Regions from separate parts of the Homo sapiens genome. Here region 2 is linked to region 1. Evidence: promoter capture Hi-C in human tissues and cell types (Jung and others, 2019). All regions are on one chromosome and are shown on one strand. The core of a region is centred on a gene start or on the middle of the fragment in contact, and the rest is flanking DNA. Distances in the headings are between cores, read along the strand shown.

Region 1 (6,458 bases), core at 2,789-5,288:
AGTTATGTCTGCAAAGTCCTTGGAACAGTGCAGGCACGTGGCAAGTGCTTAAAAGGAGGGTAAGCTACCATCATCATCATCATTACATATCTACAAATTAGATTTTCATATACAGTTTTAAAATCAGCTGAATTTCTCATGATTTAAGATGTTTGCATGTGTTAGAGGACTTTCAGGGCAGTATCAAAATGTGACCTTGGATTAGTCACTCAATCAAAATGAGCTTCATTTTCTGCATTTGACTAAAAGAGATGATGATTAGCTCGATCTAGTTAAGGTAATGAGCATTTGAAATATGTGCAGAAAGTTTACAAAGAAAGAAATGTCACAGGTGCTCAGTGATTTACAGCACTTAATTAATTTAATCCTTCCCAGAACCTTAGTGTGAACATCCCACAGAGACAGGATGGACACCCACTCAAAATTTGGTTTGGACCCTGAGACTGAAAATGGCATGCATACACGCGCACACACACACACACACACACACACACACACACACACAGGATACAAAAAGGTTTACTGCTGACATAATGGGGCTCTCTGGGGAGAGCAGGCAGCTCCCAAATGGGTTTAAATGGCTTCTGAGAACAGGGAAAGGAGACTGGCTTGTGGGTTTTGCTGCATTTTGGGGTTGGGGCTGGAGTAGCACAGGGCAGGAGTTTGCATGGTTTGAACCTCCCACCAGCACCAAAGGAGGGAACCCCTGGGCTTTCTTATCAGCTTGTTTTGATGTGGAGGAAAAGAGGAAGGGGAGAGGTGAGGCTTTAAAGCTGTCAGCAGCAATCAGACATCAAGGAATGGAATCACTATCTTCATGAGGTAGGTCCCATAGATCCCATCGTTGAAGATGAGGAAATAAGACCCAGTAGTTTTAACTTCAGCTTGACTTCAAACCCACACGACCTACAATTCCCAAATCCTAGGAGTTTCCATGACTCAGGTGACAAAAGAAGCATGTCCTAGACCCCATTGACTTACGCAAACTCAATCAGCCAACCACAGAAAAGCTAAAGACATCCTTTTTTAAAAAAGCCTAAAGACAGCCATTTTAATCCTAATTCGTAGTTTATGATTTTCTCAAAATTTCCCCACACACAGAAAGAAACTTCAAGGTTAGGTTCTAATGTTACCATTGCTAACACTATTGTCTTTGGAGAAGGAGGAGTGACGCTCTGTTAAAAGATCCTCTTTACATCCAGGTAAAATTCCATTTCCAATTTATCCAGTGAGCACAAGGTTCTATTTCAGCAACCACATAGTCTGCAGTGGCTAAGATCCAATTTCCTTATCTGTAATTGAGTATGTGTAGTTTCTCTCTCCCTCTCTCCCCTCCCCTCCCCACCACCCCAGGTTTAACTTCTCTTCTGAAATTGTCTTTTGTGTTCTTTGCTGTTCCCATGAAAAATGAGTCTCAAGTCTTACTGCGAGATCATGAACGATTAAATTAAAATCATCAGGAATCCATTTTTATGGATTGTAAGGCCCTGAATCATCTCAGTAAGTTTTTCTGGGTAACCAAGTCCAATCAAGTTCCAAGTTCACTAAGCTTTCCTATGAGGATTACAGTAACTTCACCGCTCTCTCCAACTCACACACCAGGGCATGCAGTATTGCTTCTGCTCAGGTGGATGGTGTTCACACAGCTAAGCCTACCTCCAATGGGAGCTACAAAAGAAATCTGAATCTGTTTTGATCCAGTTGGTCCTGCAATGTTATGTATTAGTTCCTGACTCTTCGGAATGAATTATATTATACATCAAGTCACTACTTAGGACAAATCAAAATATTTATGTTTCGCTGTTAGTCATCTTTAGGTGGCACTAAAGAGCTCTTTTTCTTGAAGATGTCTTATATCTGTTTTTAGAGTCACCAAAAACCATCTCAGAGTTGTGTTAAATTCCCAGTGAGTCTTTCTTCTCATGTAAATCGATGGGCACTCTAACCTACCTTCTCCCATCCATTCCCACTAAACCCTAGGTCCAAATCAACTATTTCTTTGAAGGATAAAATTCAGACGTGTGAATATAACAGCAGTTTGATGGACACACTCAGACAATTCATTTCTTCAGGAAAAGTCATATAAATCATCAATCCACAGGGAAAATTAGCGTGAGTGCATTCCTTGGTTTTTGATTTGCAGTTATTTTGACTTTTGCAAAAGCAAGATTTTGTTCTAATGGTTAGAATGGCTCCAACAGGCATTTCCCCCAAGAAGCTATCATGTCCCAAATCTACTCCTGAGGCTCACATCACACAAATTCTTCCTCCTCCTCATCACCTCCCTTCAAGTAACTAAAGCTTATTGTAACCAGTAAACAAAGAGGAAGAGCACAGTGTTGAAAAGATAGATTCAGTTTGCTAATTTGCTATTAAATGAAATAAAAAGATTCTAGATAAATGCAAAAAAATCTGGCTGTCAAGGTCAAGTTTCTCAATCCCATTTACCTCTAAAAAATGTAAAACCTGTCATAATGAAAGGGCAGCCTTTTTCCCCATTGAAAGAACCTATTTGAGCATTCTCAAAGTAACTCTCCAATCATTGTTATCAAATTTATATGAAACAAACTCCTCCACCCTAAATGTAAGGAAGATAGTATCTGATCCCAAATATCGTCCATATTCATGTGGTTTAATGTAATCATTTCAGATAACTTCATTATTTGCCCTACCCTGCAATACAGGTTTGGGGATTTTCTACCCGTACACACAGTCCTACCAAATTGCCTACTGGAAATGTTGATGTTAATAGGTTTCACAGAGCTTTAACGGACTTGTAAAAGCCCCAGATATTATTTTCTGCCAAATTCTCCTGAAAACCCCAAATTCACGGGCGGCTGCTGGCTACATCCCATCGTCCCATCCCTCGCACCGCCCCCACGCTTTCTGGCGGCTTCCCGGTGCCCTGCTCACGCCCCGGCTGCCAGCCCCAAGCGTGCGCCCCGTGGAGCGTCCGGCAGGAAGGGCGGCCCTGCCAGCGCCACGTACAATGCCCCCTCGAATGCCTCCGACTGTTCCAACACTGCTCCTAAGCTTAGAGAGGGCTGGTCGCAGGCCGAGGGGAGGCAGCTGCCCTCCTCGTCCTCTGGCTGCTTTGTCACAGCCCTCAAGGGCGTAGGAAGAGAAGGAGAAAGTGCCCCACCACCTGGCACGGGGCCCACCATCACCTGCCTCCCACACCGCACACCCTTTACACACACAGGGTCCAGCCGGACGTGGAGCGTGGACCACCTGGACATTGAACACCTCGCCGGGGACGCTCGGAGCCGGCTCCTCCGCGCTGCCAAGGCGGGCACCGCTCAAGTGGTTCTTGGCTCGGCCCGGCCTGGAGGGGCGCGCCACTCAGTGGCCAACCGGAGCGTCTAGAGCCCCGCGCGAGAAGTGCCGAGCCCCGGAGCGGCACACCCCGAGAGCCCGGCTGGCCCCGCCCGGGAACCAGGGCGGGTAAGGGAATCAGGGTCGGCCCGGGGGTCCGCGTCCACGCGGGCCAAGAGACTGGATCCATCTTCTTCCCAAAGTGGGAAAGCCTGTGTCAGGCGTGCCCATTGTCGGGCAGCAGCAGCAGGGCCGGCGGGAAGAGGCTGCTGGTCCCGGACCAGCGCCCCGCACCGCGCCCGCCGCTTCCACTCACCTGGCAGTTGGCGCCGGAGATCCCGGCGGGGCAGGTGCAGCTGTAGCCAGGCTCGCCGGCGGGGGCCGGGTGCTGCGGGTCCGGCTCAGGGCGCGAGGTGCACACACCCCCATTCCGGCAGGGCTGCGCGGCGCACGGCCCGGGCGCAGACAGGGGCGCGGCGGGCACCGGGTTGGCCAGGGAGCTGCCTCGGGGCCCCGCTCCGAGCAGCAGCAGCAGCAGGGCCAGCGCGGGCAGCAGCTGCGCACCGGGCGCCTGGGCGCGGCGGGGCTGCATGGCCGGCCGGGAGGGCGCGGGAGCCGGAGCCAGGACGCAGTGACGGCGGCGGCGGTGGCAGTGGCGACGAGAGCTGCGAGAGCGACGGTGGCGGCTAGGGCTGCTCCGCCGGGCCGGGCGCCTCCTGCAGCTGCGGGATCCGCGGTTCCCCGGGCAACGGCGGGCGGGGCCTGCGGGGCGGGGCGGGGCGGGGCGAGCGGGGGGCGGGGCGCCTGGCGGCCCCGGCTCTGGAGCATCGGGGAGTGGGGCCTCTTTCCCCGCAGGGAGTTGGGATGGGGGTTGCAGGAAGACGATGCGGGACCCCATCCCCCAGGAGTGGGTCGAAGTCACGGGTGTGTCCAGAAGCAGCCCTGGTACAGGGAGCCAGGCGACGCTGGGGCAGGAAAGGGGCTGGAGAGGTCCACGAGTGAGGGAAGCGGGGCTTTGAGGGGCTTCCAGAGCCGGGAGCACCGAGTGCGCCCCAAGGCCCGGGCAGGGCAGGGCGCGGGAGGCGGCAGGGCGCCTCAAGGGAGGGGCGGCGCGCTCGCAGCAGCCACCTTTGGCCTCTTGGCGCAGAATCTGCGAGACCGCCGCGGGGCCCGGCCTTGCCTCATCCCCCGGGACTGCTCCCCTTCCCACAGCGCTTCTCCCGGCACCCCAAGCCCTCCCGCCCGGCCACGGAACCCTGCGCCCGACGCTTGCTCAGCAGCCGGGTTCGCCTGGAAGTGACCTCGCCTCCGCCAGGCGGACCCGGGGCCCTTGTCCTTGGTGCTGACCCAGCTGTCTCATTCTCGCCGGCCCTTTCCAGAGCGCGGGGCCTTGCCGCACCACTAAGGAACGTCTGGCCGCGCCGTGTGAGGCCGGGAAGAGGCCTTGGTGTAAGGCTGTCCACCCCTGTCGTTGAACCTAGGGGGAAACTGAGGCCCAGAAAGTCTGGATTCGAATCCAGTGGGTCAATTGACTCCCAGCCCAGAACGCCCGAAAGAACAGTTCAAAAGCCCAGGTTGGCAGAGGCGCTGCTAGCGGCAGGAATCGCAACAGGGGACTCTGCATAAAAGGAGCATTCGCTGTGACCTACTTCGGAGGGGATGGGGGGGGCGGGCTCTTCTACACGTCCTGGCTGGGCTGGCTGGTGCTGCGACCGCCAAGGAGGCTGCACTCCGCTGAATAAAGCGCATCCAGCCTTGTCTCCTCCACCTGACCTTTCACAATCTCTATTACCTGTGGGTTCCCAGGTACCTGTTACCTTCTTTTTAAGGTGGCCAAATGAAAAAAGAAAATGTGATTCCCCTGGATTGACAGTCTGGGCCAATTTTTTTTTTAGTAAACACAAAAATAGCTTGTTTTGTTTTTTAAAAAAATTAAAGTAAGGACTCCATGTGAACTTCTGCTGTAGGTGTCACAGACGCCAGGGATTGCTAAAAGTCCTCCAGTGGAAACAGAAGGCAAACTGCACGGCTTCTCCCTGTCCTGTTCAAACGCAGAAGCAAATGTCACACTTTTCTGCTTCAGGAGATACCTAAAATTCATGTGGCCATTGCAGGAAATCACTGAACCCCAGACAGATCTGCAAGCGGAGAATTCAGACCTCCAAGTGGATAGAGTTATTACATTTTTCCTCACACCTGCTGTCTTTCAATCTAAGACCTCTTCCTCTTGAAAATTCTTAATTTTGTGCCACGCCAGCACCCTCTGCTGGTACTAGTGTCGTCATTCAGGTGGTTTCTGTGCCCCTGGAGTTGCGTTCTTTCCTGAAACTAACTTCTCTTACCTTAAATCCTGGACTAGTGGATAGTGCTCTTCATTGCCTTCCATCAAGACACACACACAAATGAAGCAAGATGAAGTGTAAAAAGGTTGTGAGTTAATTAAAATCACATTTCAGTTTATTGTACTTTTGCCTGAGCAACCCCTTTGTTTGTGTATTTCATATTATTTTGAAATATAGGATAATTAAAAGTGGTTTTATTTTCTGGATGCTGGTTACTGCATGTTTCAGATAATTTTCCTTGCTAAAAGTATTCTCTTAGTCTTTAATCTTTAAAATGCATATTATGGCAGAGACAATACAAGATCCTTTCATTTTTTCCAGGCTAAAAAGGAAAACTATAATCTTCCAGCACCTTAGCTTATAGGCAGAGCAACATGATTAATGCTGGGGAAAAAGCATATTGATTTGCATGTCCTGGTCCCAAAACATCCATGTACTAAGTGCCATGAAAGTGTTAACTATTATTACTGTTACCACGCTCAGAGAAATGGGTCTTTTCTGTAGATTCCGAAAGCTGATCTGGTACTTTACTGACAGCTTTTCAACCATCTGCAAGATCCCCCAAATACTCAACTAAAAAGTCCAACCAATGTATTACCCTGTCACATTAGCAAAAGTGATTAAAATAATATTGCCTCTATGTTTAAATGAAAGCTAAAAATCCAGGCTTTTATTTTATATTATTCCCAACTTACAGAATATCAAATCTTCATCCTGACCCACCTCATTTCCTTTTTTGATAGAGTCCTTATATTGACAAGTCAAAGGCCAAATATACCAATAATGTATCTTGATTTTAGC
Region 2 (6,458 bases), core at 2,857-5,356, 450 kb before region 1:
TTCCCCTCCTGCTCCCATGGACACAGGGGATATTCCTTCTAGAGAAGAGAATGAAAAGCAAAACAGCATTTTAAGACCAGAATGACTCTTCACTCTCAGAAAGAGACACTGACAGAGCAGTTCTGCAGTTGGACAGGCTCCCTGCCTTCGTCTCAGAGGGACTGGAAACATTTGTGCCTTCCTGGCTGTATCAAAAAAAGACAAGCTTGCCCAAGAAAATAAGTATTATGACATGGCTGACTTTTTTTTTTTTTGTCTTCAAAGTGAGTTCCAGAATAAGAACAGGCTCTTCACTAAAATAATTTATACAGTTATCAAGTAAAAAACAAAACAAAACACCAAACCAGGTACAAATAATCAACCTGACATACCATGAGGCTCACCTGGAGGTCAATTTAAATATACTTCTTTGTCAGCTTACAGGTTTTCCTAGTCAGGAAGAGGCAAATCACAGAGGCTGCTACCCAGAGAGCCTACAGGGACTCTGACAACCTAGTTTGTTTTGAGGATAAAATCCTTAATACTAGTCTTCCCTTGGTCTCAGCCTGTCTGGAAAAGTTTCACTGAGGTCCACCTCAAAGTAACTGTGTTTCACATTCCAGCCCATAAGTTTCATCTCCAAAGCGAACCATCTTCAGGCCTGAAGCTCATGTACCATATTTTCCAGAGGACCTTCCCTGAGCAACACAGCACATGTTACACTCAAGGTTTGCTGCCTTTTCCTAGGATGTTGTCCACCAGAAGGAAATAAAGGAGAAAGAAGCAATAGCTTAGTTGTTTGCTGTTTTCATTTTTTTTTTAATCCACAGTAGATAAACTCACACTCGGTATTAAAAAAAGGATTCCTTATAGACACATGCATTGTGTCGCAGTATGTGAAAGTTGGGGATACCTACATCACAGAAGTAGAGTGACCAAACATAGTCAAGAGGCTATATGGTTTCACTGGTGTAGTAGCTACCTAGGGCTGTTGTAACAAATAACCATAAACTGGGTAGCTTAAAACAACAGAAATTTAATCTCTCACCATTTCGGAGGCTGGAAGTCCAAAATGTAAAGGTTGGCAGGGCCACACACCATCCAAAAGCTCTGGAGAAGAACATGTCCTCGACTCTTCTAACATCAGGTGGTTGCCAGCAATCCTTGGCATTCCTTGGCTTATGATGCCATAACTCCGGTTTCTGCCTTGATCTTCACAATGGCCTTCTCTGTGCCGCTTCTGTGTCTGCAAATCTCTCCTTATAAGGACATTAGTCATTGGCTCTAGGGTTCACCCTAATTCAATATGACCTCATCTTAACTTGCTTACATCTGCACAAACCTTATTTCCAAATAAAGCTACATTCACAGGTACCAGGGGTTAAGACTTCAACACATCTTTTAGGGGAACACAATTCAACCTTCAACAATGAATAACATATGGAGGCTTGGGTTTGAATCTGAATTTTGGTCCCTTAGTAGCTGTGTTGGTTAGGAATGTCAAAGATACATGTAACAGAAGTCCCAATTCACATATGGGCATAAACAAATGAAAGGGGGTCACATTTTTCTCATATAACTTTTGTTAGGAGGTAGGTTCAGGTGCTGCTTACTGATCCAAGTCCTTCCATCTTATCATGCTAGCCTTCTTAGTGGACTGGTTTTAAGGCTTGTCATGTATTGCTGCAGAATCACAATATGGCTGCTGCAATGCTAGACATCACATCTATGCTCAGGACAGCAAGAAGACAGAAAAGGAGGAAAAGGCTATTTCCCCAAGAAGCTTTATTTGTTATTCATGAAGGTAAAGTATCTTTAGTAGATATCCTCTCATATCCCAATGGTTAAAAACTGGTCTCTGACAATCCTTGGACCAGTATGAGATTATTATCATGGCTGGGCTAGAACACCCACCCTCAGGCCAAGGTATGACCATCTGCTGCCTGAACAAGCTGGGGCTTCATCTGCAGAGAAAAAGGTGAGATGGAAGATGTGTAGTTAATGAACTCAAGCAAAAGTTATCTGTAGTCTCTGGAGAATTGTTACATCATCCAGAAAAATGAGACAACAAAATCTCTGTCCCTTAGAATTTTCTCAAGGATTAAATATGCTTTTCATATAAAACAAAATGTCTGCTCCATGACACAAGAGGCACAGTGCTTAGGAGTGCAGACCCTACAACCAGTCTGCTGGCTATGAACCCCAGCTCTACTGCCAAAGGCTGTTGGGAGGACAGGTCAGTGCTGGGAACACAGTAAATACTAAGAAAAAGGTGGCTGCTATTGTTATTATTACTGACACTACTACTAAATAAGCCTGCAATGAATGGTAGCTGACATTTCTTGATTTTCTCCATACTTGGAAATGAGTATGGCTGGAAAAGTAAAAATCACCAATAAAACCCAATTAAATGAGAGTCTGCTAGCAGCACTGCTGGAGTGGAAGGAAATGTTGCTTCTGGGACCCTGACCACAGCACCCCTTCTCTGTGCCCTGTTTGAGAATACTTGCCACGCTATATAACCTTCTAGCTGTGGATAGTTGGGAGCAAACATGCATTTGATGGCTTCTAGAACGGCTTCACTTATCTAAAATTTCTTTTGGAGGAGTGGACTCTCAACTCAGTAGTATACATGAAATTTCCCAATAGTCAACTTCAGCACGACTTCCCTTACTACATTTATAACATGAGAGAACTAACACTTCATCCTGACCTGGAGACCACCGCCTGGCAGAAACTAAAGGAGATATAAGAGGTATGTCAACTCAGACCATTTTCAGGATAGTCACACCCAGGCCTCTCTAAAACAGGGACCCAAGTGATCAAGGGCCACAAGGTATGTGGCCCCCAAGTCCCAGCCCAGCTCACCCATACCCTAACACCCACTATCATATATGAACCTCCATCATCTTCACCCCCAACTGTAAAGACAATTGCATTCTGTGCGTCGCACTTTCCTATACATTGAGAATAAAAGGAGCTTCCCCAAGTGAGGAGACAGAGACAAGTGGACAGTGAGCAGGTCATTAACATACTGGTTCTGGCTTATAAAGCTGAGCTAGCTAGGGATCTTCTTCATATGAACAGAAACACTGAAAGTTACAATCATACTAGGAAATATATATTAAGTCCAACTTTGAACAATAAGGAATAGGACCGTGAGTCCTCTAAGTTTACAACTATGCCCTTCTTCTCACCCTTCACCCACACCCAGCATAGTACTTGGGACGTAGTAGATGGACAAGAAAGATGGACAGAAGAGAAGACAGGAGCTTAGATCTAAACTCAACACTCCATTCCTACAGTGACCAACCATAACAACATTAAGAAGTGCTTCTGTTTATTGAGCACCTACTATACGCTACATACCAAAATCTCTGCAAAGCACATCTCTCTATTTTACAGATAGGGAAAGCAAAGCTCAGAGAAGTTACAAAACTGAAACATTGCTAGTAAGCGATTGTGTCAAAATTATTTATAAAGAGACAGATATGCTTTTTTTTCGTTATTTTTTTTTTACCCAAATGATTTCTTATTCAGGAAACAACCTGGCTAAGAAGGCCATTACTGGAGCCTCCCTTATCAAAGTAAGAACTCGGTTGAAACATAAGAGGGCAGAGGAATCCTGGGCCATCAGGCATGGGAAAGAAGACCTCAGCCAGATTATTGATCCACGTGGCATCAGCATTAAGTGGAAGAGCATGTCAAGATGCTGGAAGCATTGAAATATGCCAGTCACAAAACAAGTCTGTGTCTTTTCCCTGACACCTTCCTTTTGCAGTCTTTGGCCTCAAGGGTTGGACCTGGTGAATACACTGATGCTTTATCACTGATTAGCAGCTAAATAGGGATCACAACTTTTTTTTTAAGTGAACACAAAATGACAGTAGACTAATTCCACTAGACTTTAAGGAGGTCTTTGGACAAACGACTCAACTATTTCTTCTTGCTCTACTTATATAAAGCCTCTGTTTAAATTTGTGTCCACAGGGCTGAAAGAAGCACACTGCAGTCATTGAGTGTTCTGGACTAGTTTTATTTCCTGACCACTAACAAGTCCCTGAACTGCTGCTATTCACAGAATAAAATACCTTGTAGAAGGCAGCCTGATCTCCAGTACCCTTGAAGCTGTAAGGCTGATTCTCCCAGAGTCTCCTCCAAGGCTAATTTTCATGGTAGAATGGGGTCAGTGTGGAGGGGTATTGGTATGGGAGGGACCTAATCTGGAACATCAAACAAAATGCAAAAGTTGCCTAACACTCCAAGATAACTCAGTACAGTCAACACGAAACAGCCATTAGGCCATGGTTAAGCAAGGGGCACAGAGTTTGTTCCCAGGCTAGGATTTTGCAAATCGCTTGAAAGAGATTTGCTGACAAACTTGGAGAAAGACTCAATGATGTAAGATAGCATTTTATTCCTGAGGGAGACTAAGGCCCCGGATTAATGACAACTCCTAGTTTTCTTTATGAACAATAGGGCCCGATGTTTTGTGCTTACTCAACTACAATTGATGAAAACAACAACAAAATCTAGAATGGGTTTAGTGAGAAACCTGTGCCTCTGTAATAATAGCTGTTGCTTTTTTCTAAGCAACCGCTCTGAAAATCTCCAACCTCCTCCCTCCTTCTCCCCATTTTTTTTTTGTCTAAACTTGGAATGAATGTGTACACAATCCACCCTAATCACCGGCTTTCAAGGTCTCTAGTTTGGATAAATGCTATGTGCTTCAGCTGAAAAGCTCTTCAATGGCACTTGTGAATTTTAACTTCAATAGGAGACAGCAGCTTATGTGCCACCAAAGATTTGAGCCACCAAAAACAGAGTAGCCTTTGGTCAACCCACTGCTTCAGCAAGAAATAGGACAGCAGCCTCTCTGAGCCCACAAAACAGTCATTGCTCTAACTGTATTTATTAATAACAACAGCACCAACATGTACATTGCACTGTGCCTGTCTTATCCTTCTGCACTATGGTGAAGTGCTTAAGAAGTAAGGATTGGAACCAAACTGTCTGGTTCAAACTCCAGCTCAGTTCATTTCTAGCTGCTCAACGCTGGCCAAATCACTTCGACTCTCTGGCCTTCAGTTTCTCTCTAAAATGCGGATAAAAGTGGTTACAGGATGCAAATGAGCCAGATAGTTAAAATAAAGCTCCTCGGCACAGTGCCACACACAGTGCCTGCACCACAAAAGCAGGTTACTAGTATCTTCCCATTCTTAATCCTTGCTCCTTTTGTCAATTTGGTCAGCCTGGAAAAGTATCAGATTTGCCGGTTTTCACCCTGCCTGATGGGCCAGGGCTAATGGTCTCCAGTTGACGTTTTAGAGGGTTCTCCAGTCTCACTTCTCAGGGGAAAAGTGAAAGTGGCATCATCATAGAGAAGAAAAATCTAGAACGATCCACACTCCAAGTCAAGACAACATCTACCAGATAGGACAAGGCAGAGAAAGGGTGAGATAATCCTCAGAGGAGGACTTTGGCTCCTAAAATCCCCAAATAGTATTTAGCTGGAAACTTCAACCACTTCATCAACCAAAAGTTTCAGAAGAAACCAAAAGAAAGCTTTTTCAGGATCTGGGGTCCTCCCTACTCTTCACTGTGTTTCTCCCTCTTGTGGAAGTGCTAGTACACAGACATTGGCCACAACGAGGATGAAAAAGGAAGTAATGGATGGAACAGAAAAAATTGCCCAGGCTGCAAAACTCAAATCCAGCTTTGTGAATAAAAAGCTGTTTTTTCTGAATCTGCCATGGAGAAATGGTAATCTCAGTGAAGACAGCTAGATGATTATATTGGAACCTTTATAGAATGCCTCATGAGAAGATGGTTACATGTAAACTTCACAATTAGAATCTGCTAGAACTCATACGCCTATCACATTCCACTCTATCCTAGTAATAACTACACCAAAGACCTTTAAGGATGTGTTGACCTCCTTCGTTTCTAAGTCAGTCTTGATTCATCTTTCTCCTCCTATCAAGGCCTCCAGAAAATGCATCTGGTAGCTCAGTGAAGACATTTGCTCTGAGAAAATACTTGTTCCTATGGATGGGACACAGTCTTGCATGGATGGGTTTGTTACTTCTGAGGGATCCACCCAGTACAATCATCAAGTCAATCCAGAAACTCATACAAATTTTAAAATTTCAAGGCCAGAGGTAATCTCATCTCTATTTCATAAAAACCAGTAGGGTTTTTATTTGTTCAGAAAAGTCTCCTTTACTTTTCTGAAAGGAGTCTGTTTCAAATCTGCTTCTTTAAAAATGTATAACACTCCTCAATACCTCCAAGAAAAAAAAAAAGTCTGCTGTGCAGACGGGAAGGTGAAAAGAGAAGAATTCATATTTATTCACTGTAAAAAGTTGGGGTGGTAAATTAAATCTTCACATCCCTTTTGATCCTATTATATTTTTAATGGCAGAAGCTCCCAGCGAGGGCTCGAGTGGGATGCAATAGAAGTTTTAACATTCAAGGGA

Evidence for each region. The method cuts DNA at HindIII sites, captures the fragments that hold promoters and counts their contacts. A contact is called where the count stands out against the background at its distance.
Region 2: a contact is called between a fragment that was not itself captured here and the fragment with the promoter of DNER in region 1, in 1 of the 25 tissues and cell types used here (dorsolateral prefrontal cortex).

What each region holds. Positions count from the first base shown.
Region 1 is chr2:229,710,517-229,716,974 of GRCh38, forward strand. DNER (delta/notch like EGF repeat containing) reads right to left here and starts at 4,039. Exons shown (of 13, transcript NM_139072.4): 1 at 3,632-4,039. The coding sequence starts at 3,907. RefSeq lists silencers at 3,870-3,979, 4,050-4,109 and enhancers at 3,947-4,721, 4,722-5,495. The HindIII fragment of the contact is 6,115 bases long and covers 2,668-6,458 here.
Region 2 is chr2:229,261,656-229,268,113 of GRCh38, forward strand. All of the region lies in intron 1 of PID1 (phosphotyrosine interaction domain containing 1), which reads right to left. Among named protein-coding and RNA genes, the nearest start is that of PID1, 6.4 kb to the right of the region's middle. The HindIII fragment of the contact is 6,246 bases long and covers 984-6,458 here.